5 separate regions of the Homo sapiens genome follow, and regions 1, 2, 3 and 5 are each linked to region 4. The links are contacts of gene promoters, found by promoter capture Hi-C in blood cells and fetal thymus (Javierre and others, 2016). All regions are on one chromosome and are shown on one strand. Each heading gives the region's core, a stretch centred on a gene start or on the middle of the fragment in contact. The rest is flanking DNA. Distances are from core to core; before and after follow the strand shown.

The links. The method cuts DNA at HindIII sites, captures the fragments that hold promoters and counts their contacts. A CHiCAGO score of 5 or more calls a contact.
Region 1: a fragment that was not itself captured here is called in contact with the fragment with the promoter of MON2 in region 4 in 1 of 17 cell types (activated CD4 T cells); the score reaches 5.2 in activated CD4 T cells.
Region 2: a fragment that was not itself captured here is called in contact with the fragment with the promoter of MON2 in region 4 in 3 of 17 cell types (total CD8 T cells, naive CD8 T cells and total B cells); the score reaches 7.2 in total CD8 T cells.
Region 3: a contact is called between a fragment that was not itself captured here and the fragment with the promoter of MON2 in region 4, in 1 of 17 cell types (total CD8 T cells). The highest score is 5.0, in total CD8 T cells.
Region 5: a contact is called between a fragment that was not itself captured here and the fragment with the promoter of MON2 in region 4, in 1 of 17 cell types (non-activated CD4 T cells). The highest score is 6.4, in non-activated CD4 T cells.

What each region holds. Positions count from the first base shown.
Region 1 is chr12:64,793,758-64,798,558 of GRCh38, forward strand. It overlaps a transcript of TBC1D30 not described here. Among named protein-coding and RNA genes, the nearest start is that of TBC1D30, 28 kb to the right of the region's middle. The HindIII fragment of the contact is 1,420 bases long and covers 1,269-2,688 here.
Region 2 is chr12:59,617,899-59,622,292 of GRCh38, forward strand. All of the region lies in intron 1 of SLC16A7 (solute carrier family 16 member 7), which reads left to right. Among named protein-coding and RNA genes, the nearest start is that of SLC16A7, 24 kb to the left of the region's middle. The HindIII fragment of the contact is 4,935 bases long and covers 359-4,394 here.
Region 3 is chr12:59,640,042-59,644,914 of GRCh38, forward strand. The region is part of intron 1 of SLC16A7 (solute carrier family 16 member 7); the gene reads left to right. Among named protein-coding and RNA genes, the nearest start is that of SLC16A7, 46 kb to the left of the region's middle. The HindIII fragment of the contact is 1,438 bases long and covers 1,024-2,461 here.
Region 4 is chr12:62,464,968-62,469,800 of GRCh38, forward strand. It overlaps MON2 (MON2 regulator of endosome-to-Golgi trafficking), which reads left to right and starts at 1,859. Exons shown (of 35, transcript NM_015026.3): 1 at 1,859-2,351. The coding sequence starts at 2,241. RefSeq lists a silencer at 1,561-1,880 and enhancers at 1,911-2,020, 2,016-2,515, 4,184-4,684. The HindIII fragment of the contact is 1,301 bases long and covers 610-1,910 here.
Region 5 is chr12:65,176,078-65,180,529 of GRCh38, forward strand. The region is part of intron 1 of LEMD3 (LEM domain containing 3); the gene reads left to right. Among named protein-coding and RNA genes, the nearest start is that of LEMD3, 8.7 kb to the left of the region's middle. The HindIII fragment of the contact is 3,785 bases long and covers 1-3,293 here.

The DNA of each region.
Region 1 (4,801 bases), core at 729-3,228, 2.3 Mb after region 4:
AGCAGGAAGCCTCTTGTGTTGACTTCCCTCACACGACTGTTGATTGAGCCACGCTGCTCCACTCCCTACTGGCTGGGCTCCATCTGCATGCACTGCCATCCTGGGAGCCTCATTGTGGAGGCTTTCTTTGTCTCTCTCCTGTGGTGGATCTCTTGTATCCTGGATCTTATATTTCTTTCTTGATTATTCTTTTTATTTTGTTTCCCATATCCCCTTGAGAGAGAGTGCTTGTGAAGTAAGTTTTTGGTAACTGTGCACGGGTGAAAATGTCAAATGTCTTGATTCTAAATATATGCGCTTTGATCGACTATTCTATACTTGCTGTATTGCCTTCTCACTTGTCTTGTTGCTCTTGAGAAGGCTGAAGCCTTTCTGATGCCTGACACTTTATCCTGGACTGTTTATTTTTTTTCCCTTTAAGAGCTTGTGGACTGTTCTCCTTGTTCTTGGTGTTCCTGAAATACAACAATCATGTTGCTTGGAGTGGGTCTGTTTTCACTCAGGTCATTGTCACTGGGCCTAGACAGGCTCTTTCAATCAGGCAACTTTTGTCATTCAGTTCTGGAAATTTTCTCTGAATTATTTCTTTGTTGATTTTTCTCCCTCCTTTTTCTTTTTTCTTTTTCCTCTTTCTGGGGTTCTATTGTTTGGCTGTTGGAACTTATAGACAAGTTCTGTAATGTTCTTTCTTTTTTTTTTGAGACAGGGTCTCGTCTGTTGCCCATGTTGGAGTGCAGTGGTGCAATCGTGGCTCACTGCAGCCTTGACCTCCTGGGGCTCAGGTGATCCTCCCATGTCAGCTTCCTGAGTAGCTGGGAGGTGCACACTACCACATCTGGCTAATTTTTGTATTTTTTGTAGAGATGGGGTTTCAACCACATTGCCCAGGCTGATCTCAAACTCCTGGGCTCAATCAAGTGATCCCCCTATCTCGGCCTCCCAAAGTGCCAGGATTACAGGTGTGAGCCACTGCACCTGGCTGTAACGTTTTCTCTCTTTCTCGCTTTCCAACTCCTTGTTCTTTTGATTTATTTCCTTGGAGATTACCTCAACTTTATTTTCCAGTCCTGTTATTGAGAAATCTTTTTGGGTTGCTATTTGAATGTTTCTTTTATATGGTATCCTGTTCTTGTTTCATAGATGCAATATATTTTCTTATTGCTCTAAAGATATTATGATAGAGACTAAAACAGACAAAAGAAAACAATTTGGAAGAGATAAGATTATACAGGGAGGAAAGAAACTTTCAAAACTGTATTATATTTAGAAGCTTTCCTTAGATGTCTGGTATTCTTTGGCTGTCTGCTCATAAGTAAGTGTGGGAGTCTAAATGCTGACTTGAACTCTGGGCTCCCTGGCAGGGCTTATTGACTTTGAGCTTCATTGAAGTGCCATGTGGATGGGCCCTTTGTTGTGGAACCCCTCAGGTCAGTATCTTCAAGTCTTTCATCTGGGCTGGTCAGATTCTTCAAGGAAGAGTCTTCTGATCTCCTGCTCGAAGGGTGAAGGTCTGGCTGCTGGTATTTTGGGAGCCGAGTGGGGTGAAGAGAGCTGGGAGTCTCTGCATTCAGTATGCATATGGCCACTGAGTCCCTGTTTTAGGTAAGGTACTCACCCTCAGCTGGTTGTCCAAGGACTCTGTTATCACTCTCTTCAAAAATAAGACTCTTAAACTTTTGCAGGGGTGGGAAAGTGGTAATTGCCCAACCTTATGAAGAGAGGAACGAGGGATCCAACTACTTCTCAACAGCCTTCTCCCCATATTTCTTGTCAAGCCTCCTGGGGAACTGGTTGCCAATCCCCAAGTCTCTTGTGGACTGTGTAGTATAACATAAGTTGGATTTCAGCTTTCCTGTTAGTTTGGGATTTGGCTTTCTAGGATCCTCTGTCAATTTATGTTTGTTTGCTTTTCCAGCTTCAAAAATTCATTGCTGTTCTCCACGCTCCTTTTTTTTTTTTTTTGTCCTTCACTCTGGTCCTTGCGGGTTATGATTTAAAAATTATCTTTACAATATTTTTAGTGTGGTTTTGGTGGGGACCAAAGTTAGATGCTTTTTTTTTTCAATCTTCCGTCTTACCCAGATGTGCTTTTTCCTTTTTCATAAACTCATTTCTTTTGAGAGACAAAAATAAGTTATCATTTAGATTAGGGTAGATTTGCCTTAAATTTGGAATTTGCCTGCAAAATTGTGAATTTAATTACAAATTTGTTAATATTGATAACCGTTTTAGGTATGTTTTTGATATATAATTAGCAGCCTGGTCTACCCTGAAATAACTTAGAATATGACTAGATGAAAGAAACTGATTGAGCTTGCATACAGCATATTTTAGCAACAGTTTCTCCTCATTTTCTTTAAGCTCTTTAGCATCTTAAAGTTAAGAGTTTTTTTTTTTTTTTCATTTTGTCATAATTTACTTGTGTTTCTTATGACCTCGTTATAAAGGGGTTGATTTGTAGGAAAACTGAATCTTAGTCACGGTAATTGGGAGCTACTAGAAATTTTTAAAAAATGATCTCCATTTACCCACAACCTTTGGTTGAGCAAAGGGAAACTTGGAAAAGTTGAACTTTGCTGAAACTCACTCAGCTGGTTAGTGACTCAGGAGTTTTTTGTTTGTTTTCTCTTGTCAGTTATGGCAAGAGAAAACTATATATACAGCCAGCAGGGGGAGCTCCTTCCCTTAAGCTTACGTGAGAGAAGTATTATACTATTTATGTTCTCTGTATTGCCACAAGGGTAAGACAGCCTTTAAGACTAAAAATGATACAACATCAGATAGACACCATATGAAAGAAATAAAGGGAACTTTTGTTGGAACTACCATGTATATGTATTGTGACCATTTTTGTGTTTAGTTATATTATGAGAGAATACTTCTAGAAGTGGGGATATTTTGCAATTTATAGTTTAAAAAGAGGCATTTACATTAAACCATTTTTTAGAGACTATATCTTTCAAAAGCGTTATTCATTTAACAGATATTCTGTGTTTACTATTTCCCACACATGATTGTAGGTGCTGGGAATATGGTAACAAGCAATATATCAAGATTAAGACCTCACGATTTGAAGTTCTTTTATACGAAGTGTAAATACAAGCCTAAAAGAAATACTTTTTCCCCCAAAAGAATTGACTCTTTAATTTGGTAGGACAATCAACTGCATTTTTCCTATGTCAACAGCAAAATATAAGATGATAATATGACTTATACTGAATGCTTACTTTTAGGAATTTCACATATATCTTCAAGTATCATTCTCCTCTGCAAAAAAAAAAAAAAAAAAAAAAAAAGACTATTCCAGTGTTCTTAAGCTTTGCTGCATATTGGAATCACTTGAAAAATTTAAAAAGGCTATTAATGCCTGGCTCCCCAGCCCAGACATTCTGCTTTTACTGGCATGGAGTGTGATCTAAACATTGTGATTTTTAAGCTCCCTGGGCTATTCTAATGTGCAGAAAAGTTTGGGAACTGTTGGACTGTTTCCTAATAGTGACAGCTTCCTGAAGACAAGCTCCTTTGAATCTCTTTTCTTCCTGTTGTGTCACCTTGCACAACATATTTGACCTAGCAGTGATCAATAAACATCCAGTGCTTGGTTTCTTACTAACTCTGCTTAGAGTTTATGGTCATCAGCATAATGACTCACTTGTGTACATATTTAACTTATTTATTCCACTCTTTGTCATTTTCACCTTGCAAAACCCCAAGCCTGATTAAACTCAAGTCTCTGCACATTCTGTCTCTGCATCTACCTAGCTAACTGCAGCTGCAGAAACACATATCATGGGGACGACTCTCTTTAAATATGTGACCACCAGCCTCACAGACACCCTTGGTACAACCAGCAATCCTATGATATTTCTTTAGTCTGTTCATACTCTCTCTCTCTTTCCCTTTTTACATCCTATTTTCTCCCCTCGCTCTCAGCTGGTGATTTTTGCTGTGTATTTTAACAGAGAAAATGTAAGCAATCAAAAGCGAATGTCCTCATACTCCCACCTGTATAGGTGGCATTCCTCTGAACCTCGAGATGAACTGTTCAGCTCTTCTGGGGTACCCTGGATCCATCTTGTCTTCCCTACTCAAGGAATCATCCTTCTTCTTGTCTCTCTTCCTTCATCAGGTTTTCCATCTCTGCTGGATGATTTCAACCAGTATAGAAGCATGTCATTTTATCCTTAATCTGAAACCAAACATTAAAGTCATCTCTACACCTCTCTTCAGCCATCATTCTGGTTTTCTGTGCCTCTGCTTTTTCATCTGTAAAATGGACAATAGTATTGGCCCTACTTACCTCTTAGAACTATGTTTTGAAGACAGAATTGAAAGTACTTTGAAATGTTAAATGTGTACATGTATATATGTAATTGTTTATAAATTCAAAAGTTCTGTGTTGAGTACCTGCTGGGTGCTAACATGCAAAGAAGAAGAAAAATATACAGTATCCTCAGTGAGCTTTCAGAAGAATAAAGTCAGAGAAGCAAATAAAAAATTACAGTATAATAGTTCTAATGGAGGTTGTGGTATATTGAAATAGATTTTTTGACAACTGCCATTTTTACACATCATGTGCTGACATTTTGAAGTATTCTGAATCCATCTTTCCAATATAATCAGCTAACAAATGGTGGTTTTCACTGTACCAGGTTTCAGCTTGACATTCCAATGAGTCTTACACTGTTTCAGGATAGAATTATGTATTTTTATGAAATTGGAGGAAAATGCTTAGGAGAAGGTGTTGCTGACATAGGAGAATTTCAGGCAAGTCAAGGCTGATTTGATATTCTCAAGACAA
Region 2 (4,394 bases), core at 1,576-4,075, 2.8 Mb before region 4:
TGATTTTCCTTATTTCTGTGCATTGCCACATCATAGAGGCAATTTAAATTTTTGAACTCATTTCCTGGTAAAAGCTTTTAATTACTGAAATATAGCTATATTTTACTATTGTTAACTGTGACTCAATTTTTTTGTATCCTTGAGTTTTTTTTTCCTCATAAGGGGCAAAGACATTTAGATTATATTGCAGGAATAGTGAATATTGAAATCATTTCCTGATATCTTTATCCCAAATTATCTTTCTTTTTAGAGCCATAGTATTATAGCTTATATTGCTACACTGCTTATCAGTACCATTTATATGCTTATCAGCTACACAACTCAGCATCCCTAAATCATTTTTCTCACCTTGTTCTAAAGCTTTATCCCACATACCACGTACTTAAACATTTGTTAAACCACATGGCTAGCATAAATTGCTATACTATTATAAATGTAATACTTTTTCTATCTATGTTTCCATATAATCTCATTTCATTCTTTCTAGCATGAGAGACCTGTGAAATTACAAATAACGTTCTATTCAATAATGGGGCAAAAAAGATGAGTAAAAGTCACCTGTATTCAAGAAGCATAGGAGTAAGTTTCCTAAATTTTGGCTAATGTTTGCCAATCTGCTGAAATAGCTGGAATTTTCCTTCCACAGTTTTTGCACTCACCACTGTAATTAAAATAAATATTATGGGAAACTAATTCTTGTAAAGTAGAATGCTCCCTTCCAAGTCCAAAATACATCATAGTTTGTAGTCTTAATTGTTTGTTAATCACACTCTTAAGGTGTGTGATCTTCCGTTTCCAATAGTTGTTCTGGTAATAAAGTACACATAGATATTATGATCAAGAACTTTCAAAGAGAAATGGTATCACTAGCACTATCATCCTCTTCTCCCTGCCTGAAAATCACTTTTTTTCTGAATTTTGTGGAAATCACCTATTTTCCGTAAAATATTGGCATAATAAATGATATCTTTGATAATAGAAATTATGTTTTACTTGGCAATTGGCTGCGTTTTCTATATAAAGTTTAATGCTGATATAATTTTGTGATTTTTCTGCTCCTGTATTTTCCCATTTGCAACACCTGATTATAAAGAAAATTTCCATGACTCTATTTTATTTCTCAACTATTTTAATAGCCCTAAATGTTAAATGTATCTAATGTGAGCATTTAACCTTTTAGAGTGACTTCACACTTTAACATGAACATTTTACCAAATAGTTTTTATTCGAATGAACATTTAGCCTTTACCTAATCTGATTTACAAGATTCCTTTTTGGATTTGTAGGAGTCAAACAAAGGGAAATTTACATTCCTGATTTGCAATAAAGACTTCATTTCAATTTAATATCATGCATTGTATTACACAATCTCTGTGTAAAATTGAATCGTGCAATCAAAGAATCTTGGAGGTTATTTAGCCCATTATTTTACCCAGTGAATTAATCTTACTGAATCCATGAAAAGTGATTATCCGGTTTCAATTAAAAGGTTTGCAGGCATACAGTGACCTCATCACCTTAGAAGCAGAACATTTTTCCTCATCTGGCTTCATTTGTTCATAATGTTATTTTAATATTATCTTGAGAGGGAAAATACATGTAATGTGAATTCTTTGTGTCATTTACATGTTTATAAATCTATAAATTAGAAACATTCACACCAGAAAGGCAGGTCTTTGACTTCCTGCTGACAGATTTTAAGATAATCTGTTCCTACCCACAGACCAGGTGAAGGTGGTCATGTGTACCTCACATGACATGGACTGAGTATGCCAGAGGTTATGGGCACTACAGTTGTGAGATACTGTTAACTCTGAACTGGTGGCTCTGTTGGCATGTGCAAGTGGAATAAATTGCTAGGCAAGGAGAAGAATGGGACATATGTTCTAAATAAGCAATTATAATAATGATTTACATTGATTATCTACTGTCCCAGGCACTATCTTAAACACTTTACATGTGTCACCTTTTTTAATCCATACACCTGAGATAGGGACCATTATTACTTCAGTTTTTACAGAAAACAATCCAAGGCACTGAGGCTTTAAGTGACTCACTAAAATTCACAAAGTTAGTAAATAATAGAGATGGTGTTTGAGACTAGACATTCTAACCCCAGATTCCACACGTTAGCACTTAGATGATGCTAATAGCAACTGAATTGTTCCTTATAGAGACAGAGAGGGCAGCTGCCTAACAACACTCTGCAGCTGAGTTCTGTGTTGATACTGTGTGGTTTTTTTTTTCTCCTCTTTTTCTTAAAAACTGCACTGTGTGGATTTTGCTTTTTGCAACCATTGTTCCCTGCCTATGAAAAAGGTTTGGATATTCATGTTATTCTGTTTTGCCATAGTGAAGAACTCTGAGTATTGTAGATTCATTGTTGAGATTCTAGATGCAAAGCAAAACTGATTGACTTGGGAATTACCTACTGCTTCATATAAAAACCCTTTCCTCTGAAAAAAAAATTTACAGTGAGGTATGTTTACAAAAGAGGAAGACAGCAAAAAAATTAGAATTAATTTTAAGGAAGTAGGTATCAACCAATTGACCTTGCTTGTGTGTTCAGGGCATGCAGTGGTATTTGGAAGTCATAGTATTTATTTTTGCATTTCTGTCAGCCTGGAAAGTTGATGACTAAGGCCTTTCTAGTCACTCCTGTTCTTGGTTTCGTGAAAAGAATGGTGCCTGTATTTTCATCCTCGAGACAGCAGGATAGCGTAGACATTGTGTGTCTCCACTGGAAGGAACAGAAAATAGGAAATTGGCAAAAGAAATGATTGAGAGCCTGTGTAGCAGAGGAGGAAGTAGGAGGCAAGCATTTGTGAGGAAGAGAAATCAAATGTACGATAAGAACATGGCTCAAAAGGGAAGCATATGGGAGTATTAATCAGAAACCAATAAAATTAGGCACATGAGTTCACCCACTCCAAACTGGGAGAAATATTTATAGTTTTTATTAATCACAGTAGTACTTAAAAAAATTATCCTTCACACCAATGTCCGAGCTTATGGCCTTCTATTTTCCTTAGCTATGCAAAGTTGGCCCATCAATTGTATTTTCAAGCCCAAATACAATCTTTTTTTGAGGCAGAATATATAATTAAACAGCCCACTGGACAGTTGCATTTTTAGCAGTGTTTTTAAATAACAAGTCTAAGGCAAGACTTGGTGCACTATGGTTTATCCATGGGTCTCCACCACTGTTCTCTAGACTGCTATTTTTTTGGTAAGTTAAATGCCTGCATTCATGAGCTTGAATTTCATGTTCCTCTGTTATTAGGGTTAACTCATGACTGCTCCTCACACTGATTATTGATTGTAGAAATCTGTCTCCCAATCCCTGTGAGTATTGTAGCACTGCCATGTTGTTTATAGTCTTCTTTCCTGGATAGAGCAGTCCTTGAACCCCATCCGAAAGCTGAAGTCTGACTACTGTAAAGTGATCATGGCTGTGATGATTTCTGGATTCCCTGGACTATAGGCTACCACCCATCATTCACTCTCCATCCATTGAGCAAGGATCCTTGTTTATGGTGTGGATTCTTCCTAATTATTAGTAGTCATTGTCATATGTTTCCTAATATTTAATCTGATTTGAATGCCTTACTTCTCTGTGCACCATTTAATGCCCTTCAATTTGTACCAGAATTGCCAGGCTACTAATTGTTTTCCTGTCATTCTTAGATTACAAGGAACTTCAGAGGCAAAACACTTAGATTATGTGGTATGAACATAGTTTTGTTTTGAATTTTAAGGCATACAAACATTATTTTTTAACATTTAACAATTATTAAAATATAAAGTCTTTATAAACACTTCAAGGACTTCAAATTTTATATGCTAAGAAAGTATGATTTTAAAAAATCATGTCTACGGTTTTATTTAGGTAGGGGGGTTGGGGTGGGGATGTGGGATGGTGCTGAGTAATACTTATTCATGAATTCCAGTGATGGAAATCTATCTTTGTTTTGAGGAAATTATGCATTTTAGTTATATTTACAGTATTTCCTCATATGTTTATAATTCTGTCTACTTTTTCCATTCCACCCTCCAATCACGCACACTTTTGTGGTCTCTGATTCTTCTAATTGAAGTAAATATAAAATTAATGCCTTAGTTACTGTCAACTTCTACACTCAGAGTGAAACGTGGTGTGAATGCACTGTGGGCCTCCCAAGTATTCTGCTGTGTGCTCAAAATAAGGTAAAGGTAAATTATTAAGTGAGCTAGAAAAACTATCTTTTAATGAAGGATAAGCTAACATTAGAAGTATCTATTTAATAACATGTTCAAACATTATTCTCAACCTACTTATATGTTGCTGGGCTTCTGTGTAAGCCACTGTAGTCTTTCTTCCAGGCTGAAAAAACGTAGGTTGTTGTTCCCCGAGT
Region 3 (4,873 bases), core at 493-2,992, 2.8 Mb before region 4:
TAAAGGATATAACTCAGAAATAGTCACACGGAATTGGTGCACAGGACATGGTGTGGGTGGGGGTACACAGCTTTCATGTTCCCTCTAGGCATGCCACCTTCCCAGTACTTGGAGCAGCATTAACAGTTGTAACTATTTCTCAGCCACATGCCAAATTTAAATGGTTGTAAGGAAACTCAGGAATGTTGCTAGAAACAAAGAAGACATTAGGCTCAACACAATTAGTAAGCAGAACGAAAGGGAATTTGCAATTTACTCTAATGTTTTTAATATTTGACTTTTGGGGGACATTTCATGATTAGAACTTTTGTGTCCTATTTAAATTTTGGTGAATGTCCCTGTTTTATAATTTGAAATTAAATCTTGGGTTAACTTGAACTTTATGCCCCCCCAGAGAAAAAATAATTTAGAATTTCACTTTTCCAAGCATTAGGATTGTTATTTTTGCTTGTTATGAGAAATTAAATACGTGACATTCTGAAAAAGAAAGTAGTGCTTTTCCTAAAATAGTCTCGAATTCTGTCTATCCAGATAACAAGAGGATCCATGCCACCGTTTACTACTAAAACTGTTTATCATCCCATGTGTTTGCAATTGTGTAGGATTTTTTTTCAATGATTTTTTCCTTTTTTACCATTTGATTGACAGATACAATGAAAGTTTTTCACAGCCCCTATCCAAAACAAGTTCTGCCATGTATTAAAAACTGAAAATACCCATCCTTCATCTTGGAAGCCTCATAAAGAGTCTGATATTCTAAATGTATTTTCTAAAACATTAAAAAAAGAAAATATTTTGGTGTTTTGCCAAAGTTCCCTTAAGAATTTTAAAACTAATATTGTGTAGGTTTTTTAAAGAGGAACTGCATGTATGAAAAAATGACTTATGTGGTCAAATTGCATGCTTAGAAAGGTTTCTAGTTGAACAAAACACTGAAGGCAACATTTGTATAGAAAATTAAAAATATATATATTTATATGTCTATACATACATATTGTTTGAAAAATCTTATTTAACTGTTTAAGCTTTATCTATAAATTGGAGATGTGATAGCTGCCAGGAAATGATGTAGGGAGAAATGGATGAAATAGCACATACAAAGTAGTTACCTGGGTAAATCTCTATCTTATCACTAACTCTTCCATCCCAGAGGCCTCCTTTATCACACAAGCTAAAGAACCAATTTCCACCATGTCTTATTCTTATAATCCTTTTTAAATTTAATTGATACAAAGCAGTCTTTTTAATGTATTTGTATTCCCTACTAGGGCAGAGACATTGTGTGTTCATTTGCTGCCAAATTCTCCAGAGTCTATTCTTATACATGGTATGCATTCATTTATTCATTCATTCAAAAACAATTCTTACAGCCTACTTTGCTTTTGATGGGGTTACCATGCTGAATGAAAAATGAAGTTTCTGCTTTGATAGGATATAAAAATAGTTTATTTATAAGCCAATACTTTTTTGATGAGTCCAAATATATATGATAATTGTGCAATAGTTTCTAGGGCTATTTTTTTTTAGCAGGTATCAGCATAGGAAACAAAATTAGTCCGTTGTACAAAATATTGCCTTTGTAACTTTTCTAATATTTACATTGAAGGGAGCCATTTTACATGGATATTTCTAATTTGAGGAGAGTTGCTTAACATTATTGGATGTCACTGTTTCTTACATTTTCCGTTAGTGAAAGAAGGGAGCCAATTCTGATGCTCTTCTACAATCCAGGGCTTAAAGAACCATTATTCATTGTACTTTTCAATGTATGTCACTTTCTTTTTATAGAATGTCTTTGTGGCCCTTTCCTAGATGTCATTAATAAGGCAGTGTAGAGTTTGTCCTTGGTGGGAAGATGTATAATAGTGGTAATACTTCACCATTTTGGATTATCAAAACTGTATCTATGTGCCCTAAAACACTGAGTAGCATCTAGCAAACCATATGTTTTCTAATATTGCTTTATATAGTGTTACAAAAAAAGTATCAATTTAAAAAATTATAATGCTAATTCATTTCAATTTAAACACAATCTAAATTAAGTCCTTTCTTATACATTTACATTCTGGAGACAAAGTTTTTGAACTGCATAGATGATCTAACAAGTATTTCAAAATGAATTTGCTCTGTTAGCATTTCCTGTACAGATTCATTATCCTTTGTTTCCGTGCTTCATTTTGACCCTCAGGCTTGGAATTCCTTACCTATAGTCCTGTTAGCCCATTGATTCCTCCTTATCCTTTAAGAATTATTCTAACCATTCTTTTTTTCTGGAACCTATTTCTGCCCTTCATTCACCCCAGGGTGGTTAGATATCCGTTCTTAGTGTTCCCATAAAATCATGCACATATTTATTTCGCTTACCATATTTTTCATAATTATGTTTCTTCATTTGCATCTCCTACTAGATTGTGACCTTTTTGATACTCAGGATTTTATGTGTTAATCTTTGTAACTCTAAAGCTTAATGCAGTACCTGTCTTATAGATGGTGCACAGTAAATGTACATTGCATTAGTGGATGAATAAAAGTTAAGAATGAAGATGGATCTGATTCTTCATGCAGAAGATAGAGCCTCAAGGAAGGTATAGTCCAGAAGACAAAGCACAATTCAGTGATGATGACTTTTCCCACTGTGATAGTAGTCAAAGTTATAGAATGAATGGGCAATAATGAAATAAAAATTGATTGAGGAAGAACATGCAATCTAGACTAGAGAATTGACTAACCATCAATTAAGATTGTCTTTATAGAGTTCAGTTGAGATAGATTCCATAATTGTTGTGAAGAATTTGGAAATTGTACACAGAGTAAAGAATTCTGAAACTTAGTTGAAAGTAACTTGTTGAAAAACCTTATAATAATTGGGAATACAGGCACAAAGGATGTTGGAAAGTTTATTGTAGAGCCATAGATTATTGATGAGTTATCACTGCCAGCATATCCTCAGAATACATTTATGTTGTCAATTTTTAAAAGCACTTGGATAATTAATTTAGATTAATATAATTCACTTAGATTCTGTATAAAATATTGGTAAATGATATTACTTCCTTGATTTAGACTTTACTTTCTGCCACAGACTATGCTGCATACTTTCATATGCATTAACTTTAATATTTACTCCAATGTAATTATTCACATTTTACAGATGAGGAAACAGAGGGTAAGAAAGCTCAATCCAATTGTCTTGGATCATAGAACTAATAACATTTCTGACATTAAATCCATTCCATTTGAATTGAAAGTCTGTACTTACACTACTCTGCACTATGACCCCAAGAGTCTCTAATATACATATAAGTTTTCGGCACAAGTTGAAAGTGGTAAGCATATATGTCTATAAATCTAGTTGTCTCTTACATAGTTATTCATTTGTTCATTTAGTCATCAAACATTTATTGGCCCTCTAGGCACTGCTAGGTACTGCATATGTAACATATCCATATATCATCATGGAAGTTACAGTGGAAGAGACTGGCATTAGAAATATAAACAACTGTATAATGACAATTTTTGATAAATGCTATGAAGAAAACTGGAGTGCCTTTTATTAAGCAGATTACAGAGCAGGCTTCTTATGTACTTACTTCCCTGTGGGCAAATATAATTAGATTTACAATATAGCTTACTGTAATTCAAGAAGATGCTTAAAATAGCTGTAGATAAATGGGACCACACCAGTGTAATCAAGCTGAACAGTCTGAAAACGTTGGTCTTCTAGCAGTCTTTTCACAGCACAGAGGGAATTTTGGCAAACTATGTGGTATTCTTGAAGAAAATCGTGGTGTTACACTTCAATAGGTTCTGAAAATTTACCAAATGTCACATCGGTATTTCAGTTTTGGAGAGTGACTTTGAAACTATTTCATCAATGACCTACATCAGTTCACAAAAGAACATAATTATCCATGGAGATAACTCTTAGGTTACCCTTTAAAAAAGCATTATCTGTCCTGCTGCAACTCTGAGCATATGGCAGATTTTGAATCGGAAATATGGATACAGCATTTGATAAGTTTGAATATTTGGCTTAAAATATTGATAACATTTGGCATAAAATCAAAATAGTAATATAACAGGAGAATTTATTTCATTTAGAACTTAGTAAAGGTGGGTGGTCAAAATAAATAAAAAAACAAAAAAATACAAACAAAGCAAAGCAAAACTATGTGAAACTTTGCCGGATGTTAACGACAACCTAGACCCTGGCTTTAGTGCGCATCAAAAGTTATAAAGTCTTGTCCGGGCACGGTAGCTCATGACTGTAATCCCAGCAGTTTGGGAGGCTGAGGTGGGTGGATTACTTGATGTCAGGAGTTCGAGACCAGCCTTGTCAACATGATGAAATCCCATCTCTACTAAAAATACAAAAATGAGCCGAACATGTTGGCGCATGCCTGTAATCCCAGCTACTTGGGAGGCTGAGGCACGAGAATTGCTTGAGCCTTGGAGGTGGAAACTGCAGTAAGCCAAGAAAATGCACTCCAGCCTGGGCAACAGAGTGAGACTCTTTCTCAAAAACAAAAAACAAAAATGAAAACAGTTATAAAGTCTTACGTTTTAGTTTTAGAAGTTACCTTGGACCTGTAATATAATATCATAAATAACTGGTACTTAACTAATTTCTGATTGCAAAAAAATTTCTAAGTTAATGATCTGTTTATTTGATTTTTATTTTCTCACCAACAAATGTGTGTTGTAACTTTACTTCTCGTTCCTCCCTCCCCTTTCAAAATTTCTTTATAACGGATAGAAAACATAATTTCCTGACAGTTGGAGACATTTTTGTAATTATCTGCAAACCTGCGAGGTTTAAGACTCTTATTTGTTAATGCCATTAGAAAGTGGTTGAAATGATTTTCATGAAGTA
Region 4 (4,833 bases), core at 609-3,108:
TAGTGAAAGTCAGAGAATTTGATCCTATATCACTAGCCCAATTACTAAAGCATCATTTTTGGCCAGGTGTGGTGGCTCATGCCTGTAATCCCAGCACTTCGGGAGGTCGAGGTGGGTGGATCACTTGTACTCTGGAGTTCCAGATCAGCCTGGCCAACATGCTGAAACCCCATCTCTACTAAAAAGAACAACAAACAAACAAACAAAAAGGCCTGCGGTGTGGCTCACGCCTTTGTAATCCTAGCACTTTGGGAGGCCAAGGCAGGTGGATTGCCTGAGCTCAGTAGTTGGAGACCAGCCTGGGCAACACAGTGAAACCCCATCTCTACTAAAATACAAAAAATTAGCCGGGCGTGGCAGCCTACGCCTGTAGTCCCAGCTACTCGGGAGGCTGAGACAGGAGAATTGCTTGACCCTGGGAGGTGGAGGTTGCAGTGAGTGGAGATCGCGCCACTGCACTCCAGCCTGAGTGACAGAGTGAGACTCCGTCTCCACCCCCCACCCAAAAAAAGCGCCTCGTTTTTACAAGCTCCCTGAGACCTCAAGAATAATGTCTGCCATATATTCCATTTGAACTTTTTTGCTAAATTCACCAGTTTTCATACATAAAGCTTATACCATAGGAGGTGTCAAGTTTCCCAGAAGTTGTGTAATAGGCACAAATGATCAAAATTACTGCCCTAGGAGCTCTCTACTATTACCTCATCTGTCCCCTTTATCCATCCTTGCTTTGCTTCTTATCAGAAGGAAAAATAAAATAAAATTATTTAGCTTACAAAGTAGCTCTGTTACAGCCAAACAGCGCTATCCACTGACAATCTCATGGCTCACTGTCTTCCATCATGTCATAAGCTCAGCTGTCTGAAGGTGTTGGTTTCTTCATCTCTACTGTTTCTGGTTTTTCCTCCCTCATTTTCTGCTTTCTGACCAGCAGCTGCAAAATGTCTTGGGGAAAAAGTAGACCAACCTGGATCTTGGGGAAATACAGATGAAGATTTTTCTGTTTGGCTTTTGCCTCATATTTATTTGGCACTTCAGACCTGATGAAGGCTTTTATGTATCTGTGCCTTATTTGAGCCTCGAAACTCTGATTTTATAATAGAAGGGTATTCATTCAACAAGTATGTACTGATTACCTGCTATATGCCAGACACTGTTCTAGGTGCTGGAGATACACAGGAAACAAAATAAGATTTAAAAAGAGGAAGAACCGGCAGCCCAACTCGCGAAACTCTCCTTTTAGCTGGGAGCATCTGCCAGTAAAGGGGCCGGGACAGATCTCGTAGCGCCTGGTAGGTGATTGGAGGAATTTTGGCTTTTACTTTGAGTGAGATGGGAGGCCAGCGGAATGCGTGGAGCAGAGGGTAGTCTCATTTTAGAGATTAGGAAAATAAGAGGCTACCCCACAGTAAGTGCACCAGTTGCGTTTAAAGAAAAAAAATGTATATTAACAGGAGGTAGCCACTGATTTGGGGCCACTAGTCCAGAGATTCGAAATGAAGCGGGAGGAGACACGTTAAGATTAATCTACAGGGAAACAAATTATTTACACCGAAATACAATTTAACACAAACATACGCAAAGAGATATGCCAAGGAGTACTCGGGGGCTCTGTTCAGGCACTTGTTAATGAAAACGAAGCGAATCTTGACGCCTTAAACCCTGTCTAGCCTACTTGATTCCGGGGGTGGGGCTGTGGGAATCGCTGCCCACCCGGAATCCCGCCTGCCCCGAGCATGGCCAAGCCCCAGCCCCGCCCCGCCGACGGCCTGCCGCCGGGGTTGGCCGCGGCGGTGGCGGAGGCCACGGTACCCGGAAGTGCGGCTGACGTGTCCCGGCAGCGCTCGGAATTGTGGGCGACTCGGCTAATGGCGTCGGCGAGTCTTAGGGGCCTGGGGAGCTGGCGCTGAAGCTTCTTGCCAGGTTGGCTGGTGACACCCGGTGTGGCTGGGCCCCGCGGCAGCGGAGGGACCTGCCCGCCTTGTGGGTTTCTCGGCCAGAGTCGGCGGAGCCTAGCGGGACGGTGCGACTGCGGGGGGCGCCTCCGAGAAAAGCCAGAGGTGTTGCGGGGAAGCTGCTGGGGGACGCTCGAGCAGGCTCCGGGTTCGCAGCCCAGGGCCCAAGAAGCGGGCTGCTGAAGGACCAGAGACACCGGGAGGGAGCTGCCTGTGGCCCTAAGGAGCTGACCGTGCCAGAGCTTGTTTGTACCTCTCGGAAATTGGCTGGGACCTTGGAGGATCATGTCCGGCACCAGCAGCCCCGAGGCGGTGAAGAAGCTGCTGGAGAATATGCAGAGCGACTTGCGCGCCTTGTCACTGGAGTGCAAGAAGAAATTCCCACCTGTCAAAGAGGTAAGCTTCAGGTGACGTCAGGAGAAGGCACTGTGAGCATGCCTGGTCCTGTTAGACTCAGTGCTTCACCCCAGTTTCCAGTCCTAATTTTCATTCAGGCCTCACCTTTCCAGATTTGTGAGTCGGTGGGTTGTTCCACAAGGGCTTTTTATAGTTTCCACTGGAGAGGGCTGAGGCACTTTGATTTTCTCCCCTCTCCTGTCCTCCCAGTTTAGGAGTGAAGTTCATGAAGTGAGCCTATTCAGTTAATCCAGCTAGGTGTACTGTGCACTAGCCTATTCTGGCCTTTTTCTTACTTGAAACTGGCCAAACCAAAATTGAAAAACTTGTTTGTTGCTCCCCGAAACGAGTATCCACCCATCTTGTTGAAACCTGTACTCCTCACGTTTATGGCATATCACTGAATTGGAAACAATTTTCCTTCTGGTATATATCATTCAGCTTAACTCTGTATCAATCCTTTGACGTGTTAATAAACTATCCAGAGCCACCTAATTTATGAAGAATATTGAAGATCCACATAATCATGTTAAACCTTGTTATGAGCAGTACTGTAGTGGGAAGTTGGGCTTGCAGTCAGAGCGAATACACCTGAATTTAGTTCCAGCAATAAATCTTAACCTCTTTGAGCTTCGGGTTTTTTTTTCCAGCTGTAAAATAGGGTTAAAGGATGGTTTTATATTATGTATGGGAAAGATGTCAGAGCAGAAGGGTATTATTAAAGAGATCCCAGTAAATAATACATGGAAATTTAATTCTCCAAATAGTTCTTGAGGTGAAATATTTAACATTTGGTTACTATTTGCTTTTTCTCTTAAAATGCCATTTTAATTCTCTAAAAAAAAAAAACAAACAAAAAAACCCACCAAAAACAGGCCCGGCTAATTTTGTATTTTTAGTAGAAACAGGGTTTCTCCATGTTGGTCAGGCGGGTCTCGAACTCCCGACTTCAGATGATCCCCCTGCCTCGGCCTCCCAAAGTGCTGGGATTACAGGCGTGAGCCACAGCGCCCGGCTGTTTTTATTTTTATTCCTATTTAATGTAGTTTGTTTTACCTGCAATTTCATTTACTCTTTGCCCTAAAAATTCACCGAGGGATTTCATATTTACATACTTATTTAAATATATCTTTATTATTATGAAGATTATGTAATTAGAACTTGACCAATAAATTTTGGATTTTAGGCTTGTAAGGAATATTGACTTTTCTGTAAGTGCATTGGTTTTATCAGTTTTCAACAAACTCCATCTTGTATTTCTTTAATAAAGTATTACCCAGTGATGGAAACCAGATGTGCCACTTTTGGAAAGATGGCTGTTACGATATGTTTTATTTCACATAGTCAATAGTCTGTTTTGATATTGATTTTCATTTTTTTTATATCCTCTGTTGAAAGTTATAACAAGTAAATCTAAAGAATTAGGCTGTTTTAGAGAATTTTAAAGAATTAAGTTGTTTTAATTATAAGAGAAATGCTCTCATTTAGAAAATATCAAACACTATTTTGTAATTTCAACAATAATTTGTAGAACTGACTTCGCAGTTCTAATAATTCATACAAAAACTGTGGTTCCTCTATAGGCTGTTGTGGTCTAGCTTGGGAATTTAATTGCCATTTATTACATTTTTTTGTTTTGTTTTTTGATTTTGGAAATGGGGTCTCTGTGGCCCAGGCTGGAGTGCAGTGGTGCGATCTGCAACCTCGAACTCCCTGGCTCAGGTGATTCTCCCACCTCAGCCCCCTGAGTTGCAGCGACTACAAGTGCATACCACCACGACAGGCTAATTTTTCGCCTTTTTTTTTTTTTTTTTTGTAGAGACGGGGTTTTGGCAGGCTGGTCTCCTGAACTGGGTTCAAGCGATCTGCCCACCTCTGGCTCCCAAAGTGCTGGGATTACAGGTGTGAACCACCATGCCCAGCCAGAAGCTGCTGGAGGATCCCTTGAGCCCAGGCGGTCAAGGCTGCAGTGAGTGGTGATTGTGCCACTGTACTCCAGCCTGGGAGACAGAAGGAGACCCTGTCTCAAAACAAACTAACAAAAAAGCTTATTGGTTTTTACTTGAACACTGGCTAGAGAGATATTTTGTAATTGCACCTAGTCTTTGAGATAATAGCAAAAGTAATTCTTGTGATTATCTCTGATGCATAATTTTGTATATGGTACGTGTTTATAAGAATTTGTTGAATGAAAGCTTTTTGATTTCTTACCCAATGACACTGGGCACTACTTTAGGAATTGAAAAATGATCTTGACTGTGTCATAGGTTTAAAACAAAGAGAGTCATTAGCCTAATTATGATGAAGTTTTAGGACAAAGGTTTGACTTTCAAGAAATAGTTTGGCTGAATTAAATTTTCTCTGTTAAATTAATAAGAGTGCCAGATTTTGGCTTTTGTTCTTCAAGAAACTGGTAGGATTTTGGTTTTATTTTTCTCTTTGGTTGCCAACTAAACTTTAAGGCAAAGTCTAAGAAGCTAGT
Region 5 (4,452 bases), core at 151-2,650, 2.7 Mb after region 4:
AACTCTTTCAGTAACCTAAAATGGTGTCCCTGCTTCTAGGCTGTAGCTCTTCCAGTCCATTTGTCAGTACAGAGCAGCGTTTCTAAAGCACAAATGTGATCATTCCCTCTTGCTTAAAATTACACAATGGCTTTCTCTTAGTTATTGGCCAAAATCTAAACTCGTTGGCTAAACTGTTCATGATCTGACTATGCTTGCCCTTTCTACCAGTCTCCCTTATCACACTTACTTTCTAGAAAACTGAACTGTTTGCTGTTTTCTGAGTAAGTCATGAAATTTGTGCTTTTCTACCTTTGCACAGGTTATCCCCTTTTTTGGGAATGTTTCTTTATTTTGTAACTGTGATTCATTCTTAAACATGTCATCTCCAGATATCTCTGACTCTCCATCTTTTTACCCTAGAGTTTGGCCCATCATTTTGTGCTCAAATAAGACATTAATTGCATCCTTCATAGTATTTAGGACAAAGTATTATATTTGTGTGTCCACCATGCCAAATAGATGACAGCTCCTTTCTTTAGAGTAATATTTCTATAGGAGTAGAATACAGTGTTAAAGAGTACAAACTTTTTACTCAGTTCTGATTTTGGCTCTACTTTTTAAAGTAGACTATACTAGAGATATAATTGCCTCATACTAAAAATGAGATTGATAATACTATCTGAGGATGACTTGTATTAAGTGAGATAATGCATCTAAACTAGTGTTGTCTGGCACATGGAAATCTCTTAGTAGATGGAAGTCACATTAGTATCTTCAGCACAGATTCATTATTCAGCAAATATCTGTTGAATAAATGATCACATATCAGGTACTCAGGATATATGCACTGTTAACTGGTAGTATCTAACTCGGTAATTGGTTATCTACTTAGTATCTGGTAAGGATATATAAAAGAAATCTTATTTCTGTAGAAGCCTCCACACCACTAATAACAGTAATAGGAAATGGCTAAGAAACATACAGGATATTATGTGGTTACACACTTTTATAAAAGGGGAGAATTCACTGTAAATTCTCAAATGATCAGTCTTACATGATCAAAAGTTCTAAATTCAACATTTGGATTTTATTCTGTAGGTTGAGTAATGGCAATTCATGGAGGTTATAAAGCAGAGGACAAGCATGATCGAATTGGTCCTTTAAGAAGGATAAACAGGTGATGGTTTAGACAGTGATAGGGTTGGAGGGAAGGAGTAGGGTGATGACACCTGAAGGAGGTGGATAAGTGGGAATGGAGTTGGGCCTATGAATGAAATTCATTTGAAGAAAGACATATGGTTTTGAGTATAGAGAATAAGAGACAGATAGGAGTCAAAGATTATTCTGGCCATGAGCCTGGATGACTGAGAGAATGATAATATCATTGGAGGAATTAGAGATGTGGAAGAGGGATCTTGTTTGGGGAAAAGTGGTCTAGGGAAAATGAGTTTACTTGGGGCTTATTATTTGAGTTGTTCAAGTGAAAAATTCTTGTAGGCTCTTGTAGATACAGAATTGGAGTAAAGATGAGAGACTGGTGCTGAATGTGAGTACTAGTACTGTTTACTAAGGGAATACTTTTAAATGTTTGTTTTTTTAATGTGTTGTTGTTTTCTTTAAAATCAAGACCAGTTGTTACAAAGAAGTAACATGTTTTAATGTCATTGTCGTTTAAAAAATATTTTTACTTCTTAAAGTAGACTAGCCAAAAGGTCCCGAACTTGGTATCTAAAATGAATATGGGGAATAAGGATTTTGAAAAATAGCTGTTGCTCTCATTCTTTTTTTTTTTTTTTCAATATGAGACAGGGTCTTGCTGTGTCACCCAGGTTGGATTGCAGTGGTGTGATCATGGCTTACTGCAGCCTCAACCTCCCAGGACTCAAGCAATCCTCACAGCTCAGCCTCCTGAGTAGCTGGGACTATAGATCTGCATCACCACATCTGGCAAATTTTTTGTATTTTTTGTTGAGACAGGATCTCACTTTGTTGTCCAGGCTGGTCTTGAACTCCTGGGCTCAAGCGATCCTGTCACCTTCGCCTCCCAAAGTGCTGAGATTACAGGTGTCAGCCATAGCAGCCGGCCTATTCTCTCATTCTTGAAGAATGAAAGCTCCATGTTATGTTTGAAGTTTTACGAGTTGACTGCTTTGTAAGAAAAAAAAAAAAATCCTAGATCTATGAGAATATTCCCGTGAATGCCAGGGATTTGCATATACCAGTTTGATGATTTCAGAAATTAAAGTCTACTCTATGAAAATGTTTTTCATTTGAAAATTTTCCCTAGAATGATTTAAATTAAAAATAATGAGGAAAAACTTGTGAATCTCTACAGATATATCCACGGAGACTAGTTTGAGGATACACTGGCATAGCTATCAGAGAACCTGGGCTTCAATATTGGCCCTTCCACTTACTAGCTTTTTTTCACTAAGGCAAGTTGCTTAGCCATTGTAAACCTCAATATCCTCATATGAAAAATAGGTTAAATGAGAATGAAGTAATGTGTGTAAAGTAAAACTCATACATGGCACATAGTAATAATAATAACTAACCCTTACGTAGCATTAACTGTGTTCCAGGCACTGAGCTAAACAATTATTATTTAATCCTTATGAGGTAGGTACTTATCCCATTTTATAAGTAAATGGAGACACTGAGAAGTAACTCGCCCAGGGTCATGTAGCTAGTAAGTGAAGCGGCAGTATTTGAACTCAGACAGTGGCTCTTAACTGTTCTTCTAGATTGCCTTTTAATATGTATAAATAAGGACTTGATATATGTTCTCTACTATTATTGTCTTTATTTTCAGAAAACTGTGACAAGTATAGATTCATAAAATCCTAGAAGTGGCAGGAATAATCTATGAAACCTAACAACTTTAGGAAAAGTTGTATTCATTCAACAATTATGAATCACATGGAACTATTTATCCTTAAGGTTTTAGATTAATTAAGGGGGAGGGGGCATCTGCTATGAAGCAAACTATAATATATAATACATAGAACAATAATACAATATTAAAACTATTTCTAATTTTTAAAATATTTGCAGTCTCAAAACTGGTAGGGAAAGTGATCTTTTGATTTGTATTACCAATTACAACTTGTTCTTTCTGTTGTTCATTTTTAGGATATAAAGAACTTTTCATACATTTGATCTCCCTTTTTTGCTCCTTTTGAATAAACTTCATATTTTCCCTTTATACTCATATATGTTTTAATGGAAATGATGCATTTGATAATTTCAGGGACACTAAAATAATCATGAAAAATTATTTTCATGATTCCTAAGAGTTGGGAAGTTCTTAAAGCTTGCTTCTCCTTGCTCATTGATTATTCAATATTAACTTTCCCTATCTGAAAAATATGTTATATAAATGGAAATTTATAGCCTCAGTGCAAAGATAATTATATAGTTTGTAAGTTGTTTAAAAGAGAAGGACACCTTAAACTGTTGGAACTCTCCAAAATGTATTTGTTAATAAATAAGTACTACTAACTTGTTTGTGAAAATTTTATTACTAATGATATAATCTAAATTCGAATGAAGATATATTCTAGGGGTGGGGAGAATATCAGGAAAAATAGCTAATGCATGCTGGGCTTAATACCTAGGTGATGGGTTGATAGGTGCAGCAAACTGCCATGGCACGCGTTTACCTATGTAACAAACCTGCACATCCTGCACATGTATCCCAGAACTTAAAATAACATTTTAAAAAAGATGTATTTTAATCTTGTATTGATTATACATTAAAAATTGCTGCCATTTAATATGGGAACATAGCTTAATACTAATTGTGGAAATTGTTATAACAGTTATTTGCTTATAACTTTGGATTTTGATTTTCATATTTAGATTTATTTTTAACATAGATTTTATTTATTTTTTATTTTTTTGGAGACAGGATCTTGTTCTCTCGCCCAGGCTGGAGTGCAGTGGTGCAATATCGGCTCACTGCAGCCTCCATCTCCTAGGTTCAAGTGATTTTCCTGCCTCCACCTCCCAAGTATCTGGGATTACAGGCACATGGCACCACGCCCGGCTAATTTTTGTATTTTTTAGTAGAGATGAGGTTTCACCATGTTGGCCAGGCTGGTCTTAAACTCCTGACCTCAGGTAATCCACCTGCCTCGGCCTCTCAAAGTGCTGGGGTTACAGGTGTGCGCCACCGTGCCCTGCCCTAACATAGATTTTAAAGTGAACCAGTAACAGTATAGTTGAGCAGTAACCTTTGGATTTCACTGTTTTAATAATCTATGCTTTAAACTGCATCAGTTTATATATTATATATTATATATATAGTTAATAATATTCTTTATTAACAATATTGCCAAAATTTTTTTAAACAAGAGTTTACCAGGAAGAAAATAAGTTAGGTTTTAATAATTTATTTTGCATGTTTAATATCATTATTTAAAAAATATATTTCTTAGGAAATTAGCTCTTCAAAAAGGTTATAAAAGT